Regions from separate parts of the Homo sapiens genome. Here regions 2 and 3 are each linked to region 1. The links are contacts of gene promoters, found by promoter capture Hi-C in blood cells and fetal thymus (Javierre and others, 2016). All regions are on one chromosome and are shown on one strand. The core of a region is centred on a gene start or on the middle of the fragment in contact, and the rest is flanking DNA. Distances in the headings are between cores, read along the strand shown.

What was found. The method cuts DNA at HindIII sites, captures the fragments that hold promoters and counts their contacts. A CHiCAGO score of 5 or more calls a contact.
Region 2: the fragment with the promoter of NPTX1 here is called in contact with the fragment with the promoter of CHMP6 in region 1 in 3 of 17 cell types (endothelial precursors, activated CD4 T cells and total CD4 T cells); the score reaches 6.9 in endothelial precursors.
Region 3: a contact is called between a fragment that was not itself captured here and the fragment with the promoter of CHMP6 in region 1, in 2 of 17 cell types (naive CD8 T cells and naive B cells). The highest score is 7.1, in naive CD8 T cells.

The regions. Positions count from the first base shown.
Region 1 is chr17:80,989,921-80,994,198 of GRCh38, forward strand. It overlaps CHMP6 (charged multivesicular body protein 6), which reads left to right and starts at 1,921. Exons shown (of 8, transcript NM_024591.5): 1 at 1,921-2,061. The coding sequence starts at 1,999. RefSeq lists silencers at 1,814-2,143, 2,274-2,423, 2,434-2,623. The HindIII fragment of the contact is 12,121 bases long and covers 1-4,278 here.
Region 2 is chr17:80,475,174-80,479,595 of GRCh38, forward strand. NPTX1 (neuronal pentraxin 1) reads right to left here and starts at 1,434. Exons shown (of 5, transcript NM_002522.4): 1 at 830-1,434; 2 at 338-545. The coding sequence starts at 1,273. RefSeq lists an enhancer at 1-421. The HindIII fragment of the contact is 19,396 bases long and covers 1-4,422 here.
Region 3 is chr17:80,438,186-80,442,769 of GRCh38, forward strand. No RefSeq gene overlaps it. Among named protein-coding and RNA genes, the nearest start is that of MIR4730, 21 kb to the left of the region's middle. RefSeq lists an enhancer at 3,287-3,953. The HindIII fragment of the contact is 1,335 bases long and covers 2,528-3,862 here.

The DNA of each region.
Region 1 (4,278 bases), core at 671-3,170:
CCCCCAAAGGGACCTGTACCTGTTTACCAAAGTAACTGTGTAACAGAGGGAGGGAAATACTCAAGCGTCTCAGGAATGACAAGACACTGGCATCAAATGGATTCCAATTCCTTTTCTTTTTCTTTTTCTTTTTTTGGAGACAGAGTATCACACTGTCGCCCAGGCTGGAGTACAGTGGTGTGATCTCAGCTCACTGCAACCTCCACCTCCCAAGTTCAAGCGATTCTCCTGCCTCAGCCTCCCAAGTAGCTGCGATTACAGGTGCATGCCACCATGCCCCACTAACTTTTGTAGTTTTGTAGAGACACGGTCCACTATGTGAGGCCAGGCTGATGTCGAACTCCTGACCTCAGGTGATCCACCCACCTCAGCCTCCCAAAGTGCTGGTATTACAGGCGTGAGCCACCACACCTGGCCAGATGGAGTCTGCTAGAGTCTCGGGGATTTTATAGGGACAGGATGGGGGCGTGGCAGGCCAGGGTGGTCTTTGGAAATGCAACATTTGGGCAGGAAAACAAAAATCCCTGTCCTCACCTAGGTTTGTGGGCACAGGCGGTGGGGGGATCCCTAGCCAAGGATCACGCCTTCCTCTACCCAGCTCTTCCTTCCCCCTTCATGAGGAGCAGGGAGTAGCAAGTCTTTTTTTTTTTTTTCCTCAACGTCCCCATGGACACCAAGGAAAAAAGTACTTCAGATGTCTTGGTGAGACAAATCAGAGGGTGGGAGATGAACCCCACAAAAATTCAGGGGCCCCCTCACCTCAGTGAAGGTTCTGGAGTCCAGAGGTTTGGAACAGGTGATAATTATTCTCCTTTTGATGTTATTTGTTATATTTTTTGTAGAGACGGGGGTCTTGCTATGTTGCCAGGCTGGTCTTGAACTCCTGGCCTCAAGCCATCCTCAGCTGAGTGCTTTTCTTTGACACTTAGTGAATGCTCAGGAACCACAGTCAGGATACTCAGGCGGGAACCGGGGTGGCTTCTCCCTTTTACCCTTTATCCCCATTCATGTGTTTCTTAGCCCCCCAGGGAAGAATGCTTCTGTGGGGGACGCAGCCACGATTCCTTGGAAGGAGAAGCTGAGCCCAGCCATGCTGGTCTCCTCCTGGCACTGATCTACAGACAGGGAGCAGCGCAGTGGAAGAGGGAAGATCCCAGGGCTGAAAGGCTGGGTGGAGGGCGCTGCTGGTCGCATTTCAGGGAACATTTTAAAGTGCAAAGCGGGCCGGGTGCGGCGGCTCACGCCTGTCATCCCAGCACTTTGGGAGCCCGAGGTGGGTGGATCAGAAGGTCAGGAGCTCAAGGCCAGCCTGGCCAATATGGTGAAACCCCGTCTCTACTAACAAACATTAGCCGGGTGTGGCAGCAGGCACCTGTAGTCCCAGCTACTCAGGAGGCTGAAGCAGGAAAATCACTTGAACCCGGGAGGCAGAGTTTGTAGTGAGCCGAGATAGCGCCCCTGCACTCCACCCTGGGCGACAGAGCAGGACTCCATCTAAAAAAAAAAAAAAAAAAAAAAGTGCAAAACGTTGGATATCACATCATTAATGCGGCATTTTGTGTTCAGAGCCAGTGGGACAGTGATTCCTGCACAAGATTCCTGAAAGCCTGGGGAGACTGAATTATGTTAATCTAAAAGGATCCCACCTAATTAGGAGATAAGAAATTTTTGCCTTCACCTGCACAGGAAGGGTGCACGGAAACACGTCATTTAGAACATCCCGGGCCCGAACATCGCGGGCCCTAACATCCAGGTATCCGTGCCACTTCTCCGTACCGGTCCAAGGAGGCCGCGGTGTTCGCGGCGGTCGCCGAGACCGGCGGGCTGTGGTTTCGAACCCGCGGCAACGGCGCGCGGCCGGAGGCGGCGCTCGGCCTTCGCGTTCCGCGGCGCCTGGCCCGGCGCGGCCGCCGTAGCGGGAGGACCCGAGCTACGGTGGCCGCGGGGCGGCGGTGGCGATTGGACTTGGTGGGTCCCGGGCCAGGGGCGGGCGCCGCCATGGGTAACCTGTTCGGCCGCAAGAAGCAGAGCCGCGTCACGGAGCAGGACAAGGCCATCCTGGTGAGGGCCCGGGCCCGGGGTCAGGGCTGGGGCCGGGACAGGCGACGGGGCCGGGGCGGGCGGCGGGGCCGGAAGAGCCCCGCGCCCTCGGCCCCCCGCGTTCGGATGGGGAAACTGAGGCGCAGCGCGCAGCCGGGCCCCTCGGTCTCTCCGCCCTGCGTCCCTCCTCGCCCGCGGGGCCTCGGGCCGGGGTCTCCTGCGCGGCGCCGTGGCTGCCGTCTTCCCCGGGGCCCGCGCGTCCGCCTCTGCGAGCCCCGCCGGGGTGGGCGCGGCTGGTGACTGCGGGATTCGACGCCGGCGTTCGGGGCTCGGCCACAGCCTGGCGGCCCGTCCGTGGGGTCCGCGCGGCGCTGGGCTTTCCCTGGCTCTGGGCCCGCGGGAGCAGGTCCCGGCTCTCCCGGAGTCGCTGCCCCCGCCCCCGTCCCGCGGCTCATTTGCCTCCTGGTGCCCTGGGCCGGAGCCCCGGCGGTGCTGCCGGCTTCGCGAGGCAGCGCGGGGCATCCCCTCTCCCTCACCCCATCCAGGCCAGGACTGGAAGGAAGTCTGCCCTGGTCCGAGGAGCGGCCGACAGGTGCGCCGAACGCCTGCCGGGGTCCTGCCGGGGTCCTGCCGGGCTTCCGCAGCGCCTGGGTACGGGACCACCGTGTTTGGCGCGTTTGTTTGCGGCGACTCCAGACTGACCCCCCGGGGCACAGCCGGGCCGGTGGTGGTGCCTTTTCCCATGTGAAAGTTAGCTTCTGTAGGAGGAGGAATCGCCTGGCATGTCAGGGACAGGGCGGGTTAAGAATAGTCCATTTTTGTAACGAGATAAACGTGTCACGAAAGAGACCCCGAAATGAAAGCAGGGCTAGCTTTTTCGGATGCTTTCTTTTCTAAATTTTGTGCAACAGAAATAGGTTAATTTTATACTAAAAGAGAAGCGAATGTAAATGAAAGAGGGAATCTTACGTTGGCATCTGAGTCCATAAGCTGTGAAAAGAAACAACGGGCACATTTGTCCCTAGAGAAGATGGGCACAGCGCTGGGCACCGTCCCGAGCTGCCTGCAAGACAGCTGGACCCAGCCTCCATCGTCCACCTTCCACCTACCCTGCCAGCCCCAAGGCACTCCCTCCCCTCTCTTTAAGGACTCAGCTCCGGTTTCTCTTCAAGCACAGCTTTCCACTTGCCAAGGGTCACTGTGGGCTCTCGGCTGTGCAGACCCGTGTTGCGGGCTGCCGTAGGTCTCCCTGGGATTTTGGGTGCTTGGGAACAGCATCCTTAGCACACACTAGCACAAATGATTGCTTTTTTTTTTCTGTTTTTCTAGGATAACAGGTGTTCCCCACGTGGCCTGTGACCCTCCACTGAGACCTTGTTTTACAGGGGGGCAGCCTGGCCACACCTGCCTGCCTTTGGCCCCTGGGTCTCCCCAGCAGTGGGGCTGGGCAGGGGGCACCTTTCACTGTAGCAACGAGAGGACCCACAGGCCTTGGCACGGCGAGGGGGAGACTCCGTGGGTGGAGGGAACCGGGAATGAGCCCTCTCAGGTAGAGGGAGCACTGGCTTCCCATGCGGAGTCTTAAAGAGGCACACAGGCCCTGACTGAGCTAATTCTCCTCAGCCTCCTGCCTTAAGGCCATAATCCCTGTGCCTGCACGGGCTCAGCATTGTCTGAAGTGATGACGTTTGGAAAACTTAAGGACCTGATAGAGCAGGACTGGCTGAAGTTCCTCAGTGGCCGAGTGCCCTCTCTGGGACGGCACACAGATGAGAGGCGGTCAGCGGGGCCGAGTGGGTGTCCCTGCAGCCGGATGGTTGGCAAAGGGGCAGGGAAGCCACAGGCATCTCATGCGGCTGAAGCGCAAGGAGAGAAGCCGGGGGGATGTCTGAGCCCTGTCCTGGCCGTGTGGCTGGTGGCACTTGGGTACTCGCCACCTGCATGTTCTTGAGTCGGAACTTTTTTTTTTTGAGATGGAGTCTCACTCTGTCACCCAGGCTGGAACACAGTGGCATACTCTCGGCTCACTGCAAGCTCTGCCTCCCGGGTTCACGCTGTTCTCCTGCCTCAGCCTCCCAGGTAGCTGGGACTACAGGCACCGCCACCACACCCGGCTAATATTTTTATGTATTTTTAGTAGAGACGGGGTTTCACCATGTTAGCCAGGATGGTCTCGATCTCCTGACCTCGTGCTCCGCCCGCCTCGGCCTCCCAAAGTGCTGGGATTACAGGCGTGAG
Region 2 (4,422 bases), core at 184-2,683, 520 kb before region 1:
AGCGACAGCCACTGTGCAAAGTTACTGAGGATTAAACAAATCAGACTTGAAAAATCCAGCGAGTGTGTGAGTGTGTCTGGATGGGGGAGGGGGCACTATGCAATCCCCTTTCCCAGAGACAGCCCCAGCCCAAGGCACCCAGCCCTGATAGAAACACCGACTAGAAGCCCAGAACCTGGGAAGGGGTGCGGGGAATGAGAAAGCGGTGCAGGGGTTGGGGGTAGCGGAGCGGCTTGAGGCTTGCACAGTGCAGAGCTGGGCTGTTAGGGATCGGGACCGAGGCAGGGTCGGGCAAGCAGGTGCAGGCAGGCAGCACGGCTCCCCCTGGCCCCAGTACCTTTCTCGAGCTCGCTGATCCGCTGGTGCAGGGAGGTCAGGGCGGTCTCGATCTTGACCCTCTCCTCGGTGTCGTTCCTGGGGCCCCCCTTGCCCTCCTCCAGGGTGTTCACCCGGGACAGCACCTGCCTCTCCAGCTCATCGATCTTGCTCTGCAGCAGATCCTTGAGGCTGTTGGTCTGGCTGGAGGAATTGAGGCGGCTGTACTGCTGCGGGGTGCAAGGGCGGGGGAAACCACACCGTTAGGCGAGGCGCGGGGACCGTGCTGGAAGGCCCGCGGCGCGGTCCCCTCTGGGCGACTGCGGGGGCGGCCTGGCAGGGAGCTGGGGCGAGTGGCCGCCGCGGGGCCTCGCAGGCGCGGGGAGGCACCGGCCGGGCACCCGCGCGGCTGAGGCGAGGGCGGGGGATGCCTGGCCGGGTAGGGAACGGGGTGGGGGAGGGCAGAGGGGCGAGCGAGCCGGAGGGGGAACCGGAGCCGAGGGCGCGCGCGGACCTCGAGGTTCTCCAGGCGGGTTTTGAGCGATTGCAAAGTTTGCCCGAGTTGGCTGAGCGTCTCGGCGGCCGGTGTCCGGGACAGGTCGCCCATGGTGTTCTTGCCCGAGCCGGGCTGCTTGCGGCCGCCGCCCGCCCGGGCCTCGCCGGCTCCGGGGTCCAGCGTGCTCTGGCTCTCGCAGCGGCCCAGCTTGGCGGTCAGCTCGCGGATGGTCTCCTTCTGGCTCAGGATGGTCTCCTTCTGCTGCAGCACCGTCTCGCGGAGCTGCAGCACGCTGCTCCGGAGCTCCTCGGCGCCGCCGGCGGCCACGGACGCGGCGCACATGTCGGCGTCCACGGGCACCGAGGTGCAGATGAAGCGCGTCGGCCCGAAATCCTGGGCCCCGGCGCCCAGGAGGCAGAGGGCGAGCAGCGCACAGGTGCGCGCGGCGCGGCCGGCCGGCATGGCTGCGGGCACCGGGCGCTCCGGGCCCGGCTCGGCTCGGCTGGGGCTCGGCTCCGGCTGGGACCCGGCTCGGGCTGTGGCTCCGCGAGCGGCCCGCGCTCTGGGCGCCGCGCTCTTCGGCCGCGCGGTCCACACCGCCGCGCTATCAGGCCCCCACTGCCGCCTGCGCTGCGGAGCCCGCGCCTTTTATGCCGCCGCGGGAGGGGCCTCGAGCCGCCGACGTCAGCGGGGGAGGAATCCCGCTTTAATTGTCCGCGGCCCGGGCCCGCGGCGCGGCGGGGGTCTCACGAGCGCGCCACCGGGGCTGCCTCCGCTCGCGTCCCCCCCGCCCTTCTGGGAGCTGCCGCGGCCCCCTCCTCCCCCGCCCCCGCCTGGGCCGGCGCTGCTGCCCCGAAGGCTCCGAGAGCTCAGGGGGAAGGAAGTCGGGCTCCGGCCCCGGACTCGAGGATGGACCACCTGCGTGGTGTCCCCGAACCTCCGACGGGGCTCCAGGCGGGCGGGAAACCACCGCGTCCGGGAGATAGAATTCGGTTCGGCCCTCCTGGCTGCACTGAACACCCTTGGGCCGGGGTCGTTTGGAGCCGGGCTGGGTGCCCAAGGACCCAGGTCGTCAACACCCGAGTGCCCGGTGGTCAACGGCTCGGAGTGGGGCCTCGCGGCGCCACTAAGTCCAGAGCGGGGGTCACCGGGCCGCCCCGCGTTTCTTAGATGTCCGTGTGCTATTGAGAAGCCGCCGGGCAGCCTGGGTACAGGGACTTCCCACGGGTCGGGGCCCCCGGCGCCTCCCCTCCCCCAGCTCCCGGGCTCTGTGGACCCGGCCCCGTCCCCGGGGGACTGTCAGTCCCCACCCCGTGCGGGCGGGGCGCTGGGGACTTCTCGGAGGCAGACCTAGCTGATCGAGCCTTTCCTGTCCGCGGCGCCGGCCCGATCGCGGGCAGGCGGCGTCGCCGGGGCTGGACGTTCGCAGCGGCGCTTCGGAAGGGGGCCCCGCGGGAGCAGCCGCCCGCGTCTCCAGCAGCTTCCCCTTGCCAGGCGCCGCGCGCGCCCGGTATCCCCGGGTGTCCACCTGTGCGTGGGGGGCTGTTTCCCGTCTGTCCAGCCGCGCCCACTTCTCAGGCCCAAAGGCCAGCAGGAAGGGTCCCGGAGGTGGCTGGGGGCGTCCACCTGAGAAGCTCCGCTCTCGCTCAGACACCCCACCCGGCACCCGCGCACTCGCGCCTTCATCTGGACCGCGGGGCTCGGCTCCCGAGATCGCGGTCCGGGTTCCGGCGCCGGGCTGGGGGCTCAGGACCAGGGCTGGCGCAGCCGCCCCGCCCCGCCCCGCCCCGGGGCTATCAGAGCGGTCAAAGCCTCGGAAATCCCTCCGTCCACGCTCCCGTGGTACAGAGAAGGAAACTGAGGCTCCGAGACTGCGGGGCCGGGCTACAGCCGTGGCCCCCCGACCCCTCCCCGCCGCCCCCGGCTTCTCTGGTCTCTGCGTTCTGCAGCCTTTCCCTGCGCGCAGCCGGGGGCTGGGGGTCCCCAGCCAGCAGGGACCCACGGGCAGTCCCGGGTGCCGGGATCGGGCGTCCGCCCCTCGGGCGGGAGCAGAGGCCGGCTCGATGGAGACCTTTTTGAGAAATGGCGGCCTCTACCCGCCCCCCAGCCCCCGAGCGCCCGCCGTCTGCGTTCAGCATCTCAGCTTTTAAGCCTCCCTGAGCCGGGGCTGCGTTCTCGTTGTCTCCTTCGGCCGCCGCTTCCTGGCGCCAGAGGGACCCCGCGGCCCGCACGGGCCTGTCCTCGGCTCCGCTCGGAGGGTGTGCGGGTTCCCGCTCCGCTGGCCCCGCTTGCCCACCACGGCGCGCCCAAACCCACGCGGCCCGCGGCCCCTTGCGTGCTCTGCCGACCCCGGGCCGCAGGAGGGGTTAGCCTCGCCGGTCCCCACGCGGGGTCTGCGCCGGCAGCGCCACGGGCTGGAACGCGCCTCGGGAGAAATTACCCGCGCGGGGTCGCGGCGTCTTCTGCCCCAACTCCCGTAGGGAGCCGCTAGGCGGGTGCCCTCCTGGCCCCAGCGCTTTGGCCTCGCCGCCCTCCCGCACGCGTCCAGTGGGGAGGCCGCGCCCGTCAGGCCTGGAGCCGGACCGTGCCCAGCCGAGAGCGCGCGGGCGCGGGAGAGGAGCCCTGCCCTGCCCAGGGCAGGCTGTTTAGACGGGGCGGGAACCCTTAGCCTGGCCCCGCGTCTCTATCCCCAGCAGCCGTGGAGCCTTCCTAGCCGCCCAAGGCCAGGGACCCTGCCTGGCTTTTCCTCCAGGGCAGCAGATCTCAGCGGCCTGGCACCTCGGCACAGAGGAGCGTGTCCCCCTTCCGCAGAGGAAGGGAGTGGACGGCGTCAGAAAGGGAGGGGAGCCTGGGGCGGTGTCTGGGGCTAGCGGGACCTCTGGGCACTGTGGGGCCCCAGGAGAGGAGACCCTCGGGTCCAGCCTGCAACTGTTGTGCAGGAGGCGCTGGGCGGGACACCTGCAGGCGCTGCACACACACGCGAGGGCCACCATGCCGCGTTTCTCCTTCACAAGACCCTGGGCAAGCGGAGGGTCGTATTTAGGATTCCCTCGGCCTCCCCAGTGTTCTGAAAGTATCTGAGAGGGAGGGAGCAGGAAAACGAAGGGCCGCCCTGCCCAAACTCATCGGGGTGTCTGGTTACTAGGTCGGAAGAGGGGGGATGGTGTTGTGAACAGCCAGTGATCCCGGCCCTGCCTGAGTCCCACACCCCAGATGCAGCTGGGGTGAGGGAGGCGATCCCGTAATATTCCCAGCCGCGTACATTTGTGGCTGCCTGTGACACGACCTCACTCATTGGGAAACCATGCACACTAGCACACTGTTATTTTATTTTTGAGACAGGGTCTTGCTCTGTTGCCTAGGCTGGAGTGCGGTGGCGCAATCACAGCTAACTGCAGCCTCGACCTCTTGGGCTCAAGCGATGCTTCCTGCACCACCACACTTCAGCTAATTTTTTTTGTTTTTTTCGTAGAGATGGTTGAACTCCTCTTGCCTTGGTCTTGGGACTACAGGTGCAAGCCACAGCGCCCGGCCTAGCACAATAGTACTTATTATACTACTCCCACCATAACGGTGCAATAGATGTGAATAAAACTCAAAAGCATAGACAA
Region 3 (4,584 bases), core at 1,945-4,444, 550 kb before region 1:
AAGGCTGCTCTGGGGAGGGGGGCGGGTTTGGGGGAGTAGAGTGCAGGGGATTGAAGCAGGGGAAACAGGGTGTGAGGGTCAAGGGGGGCTAGAATTGGGGGAGCAGGTTCACGGGCCAGGGGCTGGGCAGGGGTGGGCCTGGGCACCTGGTAGGTGGGGGAGCCCCAACTTCCCATCCCTGCGTCACACGCCCTTCCCCTGCAGGGTGGGGGTCTGCAGGGTTGGCATGTGCCCCCCTGCCCTGTCCCCACCCTACTCCCCGGCGGCAGGCAGAGGGGCGTGCAGGGGGGCCCTAAGTGCAGTGACGTCTCGACTCTGACTCCGACCCACAGAACTTTAAAAATAGGGCCGTGGTAAAGTCCGTCTCTACAGACCACAGCCTGCCCAGAGCTAAGAATATTCTTGAACCACTTAATAATTCAAGTCAGATCCAAATAGATTTTCCTGCTCACTTGCGGGCCTCTGTGTCCCTTTCCCAGGCCCCCACCCTGCCTGGAGGCTGGGAGGGAAAGACTCCAAGAAGCAGGTGGGCCTGGCCTTTGGAGCCTCTGAGACCCCAGCTGTCCTGCGTCCCCTCTCCTGTGGCACTCAGGATCAGAAGACACACCAGGGCTGGAGTGGTCCTTTAGGATCTGGCCAAGGTCAGGCCCCAGGGAGGGGCCCCTCTGGTGGTCCTAGCTGTCCCAAGCCCCACCCCTGCTCTGGCCACAGGCATTGGACTATTTGAATCTGGGTCTGAGCTGGGCCTTGGCCCCTTGCACAGCATCTGACCTGAGCCACGCACCTCTCATGGGGGCCCCGTCCTCCAGGGCCAAGGGCAGCATGAGCTCCAGGAGAGCCAGCCTCGCCCCTCACACCCTGGTAGCTGGTACACGCCCACCCCAGGGCCTGTGTCCTGCCTCCTCTGCGGAAGAGTCCCTGAAGGGCCTGGCCTGGGGCTCCTTGTCCTGGTGGAAGTGGCTGTGCACAGGCAACCAGGGCCCTGGGTTCCAGACCAAGGCCTCTGTACTTGTGTGCTGTGTGTGCTTGGGTAAGCCACCTCGCCTCTCTGAGCCTCTTATCAGTGGGACCGATGCTTTTAGAATAAGCTGTGGTGTTTGGGGCAGGAAGGGGTATCTGACGGGTGCCCTGAGGCCTGAGTCACCCTCTCCTCCAGGGGCAGTGCCCAAGCTGCAGACACCCCTCACCCATCCCTGTCTCCCCCCAGGCTCTGGTCTTTCAAACAGGAACTCAGGGTGAAGGGGTGCCACCTGGGAATGTTTGGGGGAGCCCACACTTGCTGGCGGGGAAGTGCTCACCAGCCTGGCCCCCCAACCCCGGCAGCAGCCCAGCCTTAGCAGTCCCTGCTGAACTTCCCTGGCCAGGCCCCGAGTGGAGTTTTACCAAATTATTAATTAAGGGCAAAGCCATGCTGCAGCGCTGACATCCAGATGAATAGCACGCAGTGTAATTAGGCGAGGTGTCATGGAGATGATGGAGTACAGCCTGCTAGCCCCAATTCACCTCCCCGGCAAGCAGGAGCAACTTCTCTGTGTCCTACCACCATGGGCGGCTGGTGTGGGGCCAGTAGGGGTGTGGCTAAAGGGGCCAGCTGACAGCTATTGCGGGTGCCACGGGCCCTGTGGACAGGGCTGGGCTCCTCCCCCAGGGACAGGCACCCCTTCCCCTCTGATTGCCATGGGCAGAACCCAAAAGGGAGTAAAGTGCAGAAAGGGGCAGGCAAGGTGGGAGGCAGGCTAAGGCAGGAGGGATGAGGACCAGGACAAATCCACAGATAGACCCGGAGCAGCCCAGAGAGGGGCATGGAGGGAGCACAGGAGGGCCGAGAGGGGCCGGGGAGGAGGTGCAGAATCCAGGAAGACAGGACAGGCCTCGGGGCCCTACCCTGGGGTTGCCTGGGCCTGACAGAGAGCTGGGAGCGGGGAGCAGCTTGAGAATTTTTGGTTTTGTTTTTTAGTTACTTACATTCATGTATTTTTGGTTGTTTGAGACGGAGTCTCGCTCTATCGCTGAGGTTGGAGTGCAATGGAGCAATCTTGGCTCACTGCAACGTCTGTCTCCCGGGTTCGAGCAATTCTCCTGCCTCAGCCTCCTGAGTAGCTGGGATTACAGGCGCCCGCCACCACACCCAGCCAATTTTTGTATTTTTAGTAGAGACGGGGTTTCACCATGTTGGCCAGGCTGGTCTCGAACTCCTGACCTCAATGATCCACCCGCCTCAGCCTCCCAAAGTGCTGGGATTACAGACATAAGCCACCGCTCCCTGCCTACATTTCATGTATGCTTTTAATCAACATCATAAATTGACAGTTTTAATAATCGAATAGTACTACAAGGCTTCTGACGAAAAACCACACCTCTTTCCTGATTCCCCCTTCTCAGAGGCAACCTTTTCTGTGATTGTAGCTGATTCTCTTTGGTATTTACTTCCGAATAGCCATGCTCATGTTGCTGCTGGTGCTGCTTTTTTTTTTCTCCTTTTCAGATTGAGAAATTTACCCATGTCCTTCCCACGATGGCGGCTGAAAGCTTGTTCTCTCACACGTGCCCCCCCACACTCTCCCACCAGCTTCTCCTTTTGATTGAATCAGAATTCAATGTATGCACTATTATTTCTCAGCACACACTCTTCCCAGCTGAGTAATGTATTGTAATTACATTTCCTTTCTTGTACAACCACTTATTTTTCCTGGACTTAATAATTGCCTCATTTAGGGGATTGGGTTGATATTCTGTGTACCCATTACTTATTTATCCCCAAACCCTGCCATGGAAGTATAAATCTCCTTTTGGTTCATTAAAAACATCCGGCCCATCTGGGCACAGTGGCTCACGCCTGTAATCCCAACAGTTTGGGAGGCCGAGGCGGGAGAATTGCTTGAGCCCAGTAGTTCGAGACCAACTTGACAACATAGCGAAACCCCATCTCCATCACTATTTAGTTTTAAATAAAAGATATTTTTAAAATTAAAAACATCCAGGCCAGGCTGCGCTGGGCCCGCCTCACTGTAGGGGGCTGCGCTGGGCCCGCCTCACTGTCGGGGGCTGCGCTGGGCCTGCCTCACTGCACGGGAAGTGTGCTGCCGCTGTCCTTGGTGCTGAAGTCAAGGCTGGGGCCGGAGCCTCTCCTCCAGCCTCACTCCTCTTCAGCTTCCGCCCTGCTTCGCCTCCATTCCTGCCCAAGACCCCCTGGGGAGCAGACCCCAGGCCCTCCTCAAGACTGCCGACCCCAGCCCTCGTCCCAGCCCAGGCCATCTCTCCCAGGCCTTGCCTTTCTGTACCAGGTGGTCTTCCTCCCCAGGGGGCTCCTCCCCGCAGCCCTGGCAGACAGCTTGAATCCTGGAGTTGCAGCAGGTGGGTGTCTGAGTGGAGCTCCCTTGTGTATAATCAGAACTCTCCAGGTTACATGTGACAAAAACCAACTTAAGCAAAGCTGGGACCTCGTTAGTTCACTCCAGGAGGCAGCGCCGCCCTGCATGGCCTGGCCTTGGCTCCCTCCCTCTCCGGGAGGCTGCTCCCTCATCAGCCCAGCCTCACTTCCTCACCCACATAACAATCCTTGGCAGAGTGAGCCCTGCTGTTCCAGCGGCCCCAGTGGCCCCAGCGAAGGCCCCACGCCGACACTTGTTGGCTGGCCAGGCTTGAGTCACATGCCTTCCCCTGAACCCCTCACTGTGGCCTGGGGTCGGGGGGCCAAGTGCCCAGTGCAGAGCTAGGGCCTGGAGCAGCCTCAGTGCACCTTGTGGAGAGGGGGACTTCTCAGTAGAACAGCACTCTTGCCAGGAGAAGGAACACCTGGTTGAGAAAACCGAGGTCAGGTGACCTTCTCAAGAAGGGTCAGTGGCTTCAGGATCTCTCATAAAGCTTCATCTCCAAGGCCCAAGGAGAGCAACAGTGTCCCATCTTGTCTCCAGGTAATTCTATTCCGGTGCCAGCAGAGAACAGCGTGATTAAGCCTCCATTATTAACTTGCCAATCTTGTTTCTGGGGCACAGACGCTAACGGCTTAGGGGACCCAGTTGGCATATAATGAGGTCTCCATGACAAATTACTTGGTTATCAATTAACTATCTGGGGAAATGTCAAGCAGGATCCATCATGCTGGCAGGAAGAGAGAGCCAATTAACCCAGGGCAGTTCATCCAACCCACCGTCGCTGCGTCCAGCAGGGCCAGGAATGAGAGAAAGGGCCTGTGGAGCCCAGAGCAGGGCAGTTCCTCCACCCCCCCAGGGACGGTGTGACACCGGCTGCGGCTACACTGGTGGCAGCTTCTGCAGTCATGCCTCGCGTGCTCGGCGCACCACTCTTGCCTGTACCTGTCTCTGTCCATTCATTCATTCATTCCACAGTCACCTGCATGTCAGACCTGGACCAGGCACGGATGGGAGAGGTGACTGAGGGCTGAGGTTAGGGAGGGACACACGTGCAGACTGCAGACAGGTGTCCCTGTCTTGTGTGGTCTCTGCAGTCAGCAAGATGGGTAACAGCATCCTCAGGACAGGGAGGAAAGAAGAGTTCATTCTAAAGGTGGTGGGGGGACAGAGAGAGCATCATAGCTGGGAGGAGAGAAGAGTTCATTTTAAG